Linked DNA regions of Homo sapiens: region 1 is linked to region 2. The links are contacts of gene promoters, found by promoter capture Hi-C in blood cells and fetal thymus (Javierre and others, 2016). All regions are on one chromosome and are shown on one strand. Each heading gives the region's core, a stretch centred on a gene start or on the middle of the fragment in contact. The rest is flanking DNA. Distances are from core to core; before and after follow the strand shown. Region 1 overlaps ASH1L (ASH1 like histone lysine methyltransferase). Region 2 holds the start of RIT1 (Ras like without CAAX 1).

Region 1 (3,340 bases), core at 590-3,089, 580 kb before region 2:
AGGGTTTCACCATGTTGGCCAAGCTGGTCTCGAACTCCTGACTTTAGGTGATCCGCCCGCATGGCATGTTTAAGAAATAGCTGGGGCTGGGTGCGGTGGCTCAGGCCTGTAATCGAAGCACTCTGGGAGGTGGAGGTGGGCGGATCATTTGTGGTCAGGAGTTTGAGACCAGCCTGGCCAACATGGTGAAACCCCTGTATCTACTAAAATACAAAAAAAATTAGCCAGGCATGGTGGCAGGCGCCTATAATCCCAGCTACTTGGGAGGCTGAGGCAGGAGAATCCCTTGAACCCGGGAGGCGGAGGTTGCAGTGAGACGAGGTTGCACCACTGCACGCCTGCCTGGGTGAGAGCGAGACTCCATCTCAAAAAAAAAAAAGAAAAAAAAAAAAAAGAAAAGAAAAGAAACAGCTGGGCCAGGCGTGGTGGCTCATGCCTGTAGTCCCAGAACTTTGGGAGGCTGAGTTGAGTGGATCACTTGAGCCCAGGAGTTTGAGACTAGCCTGGGCAACACAGGGAGATCCCTGTCTCTACAAAAAATAAAAACATTAGCCAGGCGTGGTGGTGCGCCCCTGTAGTCCTAGCAACTCAGGAGGCTGAGTTGGGAGGATTGCTTGAGCCCAGGAGGTTGAGGTTGCAGTGAGCTATAATGTGCCACTGCACTCTGGCCTGGGCAACACAGTGATGCCTTGTCTCAAAAACAAAAAAATTAAAAAAAACCCAACAAAACAGCTGGACTACGTTAGGCAACACGGTGAAACTCCGTCTGCACAAAAAGTGCAAGAATTGGCCAGGCATGGTGGTGCATGCCTGTAGTTCCAGCTATTTGGGAGGCTGAGGCAGAAGGATCATTTGAGTCTGGGATGTGGAGGTTGCAGTGAGCCGAGATTGTGCCATTGCACTCCAGTTTGGGTAACAGGGAGACTCTGTCTCAAACACAAAAAACAAAAAAGCAACTGGACATTTGGTGTGTGTTATTACTGTGCTGATTGATTAGGCTGAGTCCAGACTAGAAAGATCCTAGTACTGAAGAAATGACTTTATCCAGTAGTCAACGGCAGTGAGTGTGCTCATGTGCAGCCTAGCATGTTTATGATGTTGTTTCAGAAAGATCCCCTTGGAAACAGGATGAGGTTGTCTTGGAAGATAAATGGGGGATAAGAAGGAGGAAAAAATAGCAAGCTCATCAGTCCACAGTTAGGAAAAGTTTTTTCCATTTAATACTAGACTTTCAAGGATTGAGATGCAAGCTTTGTATGCAATTACATCCAATGTTAAAATTGGTAATACATAATTTACAAAGATTAACATCAAAACAATCATCTATTTAGATATGCTTTTGTAAAAAGGAAATATATTAGCAGCATTTATATTTTCCGCAATCACACAGCCTACAGACATGCAGACTAACTCTGTATCTATTTGCAGTGATGTAGTGCTTTGCCCCGCATTTCAAACACCAAAACCCGCCTGGCAGCTGGGGGGTTCTTTTTATTTCGTTATTATAAAATAACTGAAAAATAAAAAAAGGCATTAATTTCTACACCAGTAAGAAAAAACAAGTTTTTGCACTTACCTAACATTTGATTGTCTAAAAAACATTTCAGTTTTTTTTTAGTCTTTCAACAAAAGAAAGATAAAATGACAGAGCGTAGTGTCTTTTGCTTCTGTTCTCGCATTTTACAAAGTTTTTTTTTCTTTTTCATCTTTTTTAAAATTTTAGTGTTTAACACTATAAAGGAAACATTGAATTTTAATCTCTTTCTTGTCATTTTCTCGCTTTTGACTAAAAGGAGACCCCCAAAGTGCCCCTAGTCCCACCTCCCTCCCACCCACTCCCTGCAATGAAAAACAAAAGAAACCACTCAAACGGGCTTGGACATGCGATTTTTCCAGCTCCACATGTGAGTATCTTATACCCAGGTCTCTTAGTAATGTACAGTGCTTCTCTACAGTAAGAAAATACTCCAAACTATTTTCTTAATTCTCTTTTTTCTTTAATAAAATATTTATTTTGCTTTTTCTCTGCTCAAGGGGATCATTGGCATCCCCTCTCTCTTTTGTTTTTTCCTCAAGAATGACACAGAAAGGGGAAAAAGGAAAAAATATTTAATGGAATGGAAGGTGGTCAATGTGTCTACCTAAACGAGTCAGAGCATCGTCACCATAAGGGGAAATGTACAATTAGGACAGCATTGGTCCAATATTAGAAAAAAGTAATGGGGACATGTTTACTATTGTATTGCTTACCAATCACACAGCAGGTGTGTGTGTGTGTGTGTATATATATACACACACACATATATATATACACACACATACACACATATATATACACACACACACACAACTTGGCACATTTAAAAACCATCTTTTCTCTTATAAGAACATCTAAAACATATATGCATATGTATGTCTGAAAAGACAACAAAGCTTTTTAAATTTTATTTTTAAAGAGACAGTATAGTCTGTTAACTTCTGGTCAAGAGAGTAGGAAGGAAGGAGACACCCTGGATATACCTCCTGATGTCATTCAGGAGGGTGAGGGAAGATGGGCTAGGGGTGAAGAGAAATATACTGTCTCTTTAAGAAAGGGACATTGAAAACTGTACAATTAAGAAAACAAGAGTAGTGTTTTCAATTGATAATCTATACTCACAACAAATACTCTGATAGGTGAATACTGCTGAACAGTTTATGTAGTGACTTTTGTTGCAGGGGTGGGTTTAGAGTTCTTTTTATGTAGGTTTTTAAATGATTTTATTTTGAACTGAATCTCCATTTGCACAGCACAGCAGACACACAAGAACTACAGCGCATTAAAAACAGCATGTGTGCTGGCGGGGGCCTGGCTTTCTCATTAGAAAAAAATATGTTTGACAGGTTATGAAGGGTAAAACAAAAATAATTGCAAGAACTACCGTGCCCTTCTGACCCCATGGGGGCCTTCCCTATCCCATGATTCCATTTTGGGGAGTAGAGGTAGGGAGGGGGCAGCAGTTACAAGTGCTTTGAGCTGTCAACTCACATTTTACTTTGACCTGGTTGGGCAAGAAAGGAGAGACAAACTTCCCTAGTCAGGTATCTAGGAAGAAGCCTCAGCTACTGTTTCTGTTTAAGGTCTCTGGGGTAGCTCTTGGAGCCAACAGAGAATAGATGGGGTAGGAATAGGGATCCTGGCCCTATCCCTTTGGATTTTGAGTTATACCTGGGTATAGGAAGCAGCTTCTTCGCAATGCCTGTGGGATCTGAGGATGACAGAAAAACCTAAGCTGTGGGGTGGGGCAAATGCTATAAAGTACCAGTAGGTTCTGGTCATCAATGTGGTCCTCCCTCCTCT
Region 2 (2,990 bases), core at 76-2,575:
CAGGCTTGGCATGTCTGGGTTGTAAGAGTTCAGCAGCCTGGCTCTACTTGTTTCTCTGCTTCCTTTTGTGGAAGTTCAAACCAGCTGACTCACAGTTACAGAGCGAGTCTCAAGTCATACCCTTAGAGAAGTGACAGCAAGAAAAGGCTTCGTTAAGTGGCCTGTATACAACCATAAAAAAATACAACAAAGAGAGTTGTCCCATTAATGTTCAGTAAGAGACAAAGACTAAAGATGGCTTATGACATAAAGTCTGAAAAAAAAAGAAATATTCAGTTGCTTACCAACTGCTGATACCCTTGTTTCTAAATAAATCTGAATTAGACTCCAAAAAAGCCTCAAAATATAAATAGTTAGAAACTACTGATATTCATTAAGATATTTTTATGGGGTATATTTGGAAACATAAGTGATGATCTGGCTTACCAATGGTGGGATCATGATCTTCTGGGAATCGGTGGCTGATGAACTGCATGGTCATGGCTTCAAAAGAAGAAATAAAAGTCAAATCCTCACAAAGGTGACCCACAGAGAGAATTTTAAGTATTAACATTGCAAGATAGCAAGTATCCCATCTGGTCATTTAAGTACTTTTCATCCATGCTTCCTGTCAAATGGAAAATGTTACCTACCACTCTTCCCTACACCACCAGCACCCAGCATCACTAGTTTGTACTCCCGTGAGAGCCCAGCGGGGCTGCTACAGCAGCTACCAACTGGGCGAGTTCCAGAATCCATTGTCCTCTTGGGGCCTTCCTCGGTTGCCCCGAGGAAAAGCCACCTAGAAAAGGAGGAGGAAATGCTTAATCCAGGATGGAGACACCACGGCGACAGCCCTCAAGCCAGTGCCTTACCTTTCCATACATATTCTGGCCTGTCCCTCTTACTCTGGCCTGTCCCTCTTGCTCACCACTGCACCCTTTCGGGTGGCCCTAAGAAACCCCCCCATCTTCACCCTCCCTCCTAGACAGTTCAGTCACATGACACATCACAGGTTTTACTTTTTCCAAAGAGAAAAATAAAAAGATACAAATAAATTTACGTCTCGGCACAGTAGGGACAAGGAGAAAGTTTTGGGAAGAAAGGGATGCGGCCCCTTAGGCCGCAGGGGTTCTCTCACGTCTGCGGTACCCAGAGGTTCCGCCCCCTCCCCATTCTCCTCCGAACCCCCTCCCCACCCCCAGCTGCTGCTCCGCCGCCAGACTCCCCACCCCTCTACCTCACAAGCCGACGCCCTGCTGCTCCTACTGGTCAGTGGGGACTGGAACACCACAGCCGGTCGGGTCACGCACTTCGTCTTCCTTCACTCGCGGAGGCTCCGGCACTGACCTGTGACCCCTCCCGCAACCGAGTAAGATGGCGCCACCGGCGCCCGAGTCGCGGAAGGAGGGGCGGGGCCACTCAGTGACGCCCACAGCCTGCCCCGCCCTCTTCCCGCCCCTCCCAGGTCCCTAAAACCCAGTTCCGGGACCCACCGCTGAAGGTCCTCTGGTCACCTACCCAACCTAGGGTGTATGCACTCACAGACAAGGGTATTTAATCACGAGTAGAAAGTAAATTATTTACACAAAAGGGAAGGGAGTACGTGATAAGAGACATGCAGGGACACTTAAATTAACAACTTACCGAGGGTTGTTTGCTGCTTGTGGGAAAAAAAAAAACCCAAAACTAATTTGACCCAATGTAATGAGAGGAAGGGAGGACAGGGGCACCCCCCAAATCCTCCTAAAACACAGGATTTCAGTCAAGTCTACCGGGGATGACTACTCATAGGAGAAAAATGACTTTCCTAAAGGAGCGGCCACAATGACTTTTGCTATTGAAACCTAAATTCATTCTCAGAAACCAGATGTTCACAACACTCCCTAATCAGAGTTCTGTATGTATTTTAAACACGTATAAGACACACAAAAACTTGTTTTAAATAAATGTACCACACTCTGGCAGGAAAGAGAGCTCTGAGTTAACAGAGGCCTTGAGTTAAATACAGAACTGAAGCGCAGCCACTATAACCATATTCCCCTCTATTTACGTAGCACAGGTGCTAGAAGAAACTGACACGAAAATTGTTCTCATGCAGCTCTGCCTACCACTGTTCTTTTTAAATGTCTTTCTGGGCCGGGCGGGCGCGGTGGCTCACACCTGTAATCCCAGCACTCTGGGAGGCCGAGGCAGGTGAGTCATGAGGTCAAGAAATAAGAGACCATCCTGGCCAACATGTAAAACCGTCTCTACTAAAAATACAAAAGAATTAGCTGGGTGTGGTGGCATGCGCCTATAAGTCCCAGCTACTCGGGAGGCTGAGGCAGGAGAATCACTTGAACCTGGGAGGTGGAGGTTGCAGTTAGCTGGCTGAGAGGGTGCCACTGCACTCCAGCCTGGCAACAGAGCAAAACTCCGTCTCAAAATTTAAGTCTTTCTGGCCAGGAGTGCTGGCTCACGCCTGTAATCCCAGGACTTTGGGAGGCTGAAGTGGGCTGATCACTTGAGGATCAGGAGTTCAAGACCAGCCTGGCCAAAATGGTGACTCCCTGTCTCTACTAAAAATATAAAAATTAGTTGGGCATGGTGGTAGGTGCCTATAATCCCAGCTACTCAGGAGGCTGAGGCTGGAGAACCACTTGAACCCAGGAGGTTGCGGTGAGCCAGGATTGCACCATTCCACTCCAGCCTGGGTGACAGAGCGAGACTCCATCTCAAAAAAAAATAAAATGTCTTTCCAAGAATAACATATTTCCTTTAAAACCCGCTTCATTCATGAAGTCCTTTTAATACGCTGTTAAATAAAGGAGGGCTAAAATATGAAAATGGAAAATATCCAGCATAATAATCCTTAACCTTTTCATTTGAACTTTAAGGGTACATTTTGCAGTTACATAACTCTGGGAACTATATGCAAACCTTGGGGTCTGTATATGTATTTTTCTGGTAATGTTATAGTTGCATTGTGCTATGAGTAAAAAAGTTTATGAATTTCAGTGTATGGATGG

What was found. The method cuts DNA at HindIII sites, captures the fragments that hold promoters and counts their contacts. A CHiCAGO score of 5 or more calls a contact.
Region 1: a contact is called between a fragment that was not itself captured here and the fragment with the promoter of RIT1 in region 2, in 2 of 17 cell types (megakaryocytes and M2 macrophages). The highest score is 6.4, in megakaryocytes.

What each region holds. Positions count from the first base shown.
Region 1 is chr1:155,334,071-155,337,410 of GRCh38, forward strand. ASH1L (ASH1 like histone lysine methyltransferase) reads right to left here. Exons shown (of 28, transcript NM_018489.3): 28 at 1,198-3,340. Among named protein-coding and RNA genes, the nearest start is that of MIR555, 11 kb to the right of the region's middle. The HindIII fragment of the contact is 1,183 bases long and covers 1,249-2,431 here.
Region 2 is chr1:155,910,024-155,913,013 of GRCh38, forward strand. It overlaps RIT1 (Ras like without CAAX 1), which reads right to left and starts at 1,326. Exons shown (of 6, transcript NM_006912.6): 1 at 1,220-1,326; 2 at 633-781; 3 at 427-483. The coding sequence starts at 738. The HindIII fragment of the contact is 5,298 bases long and covers 1-2,990 here.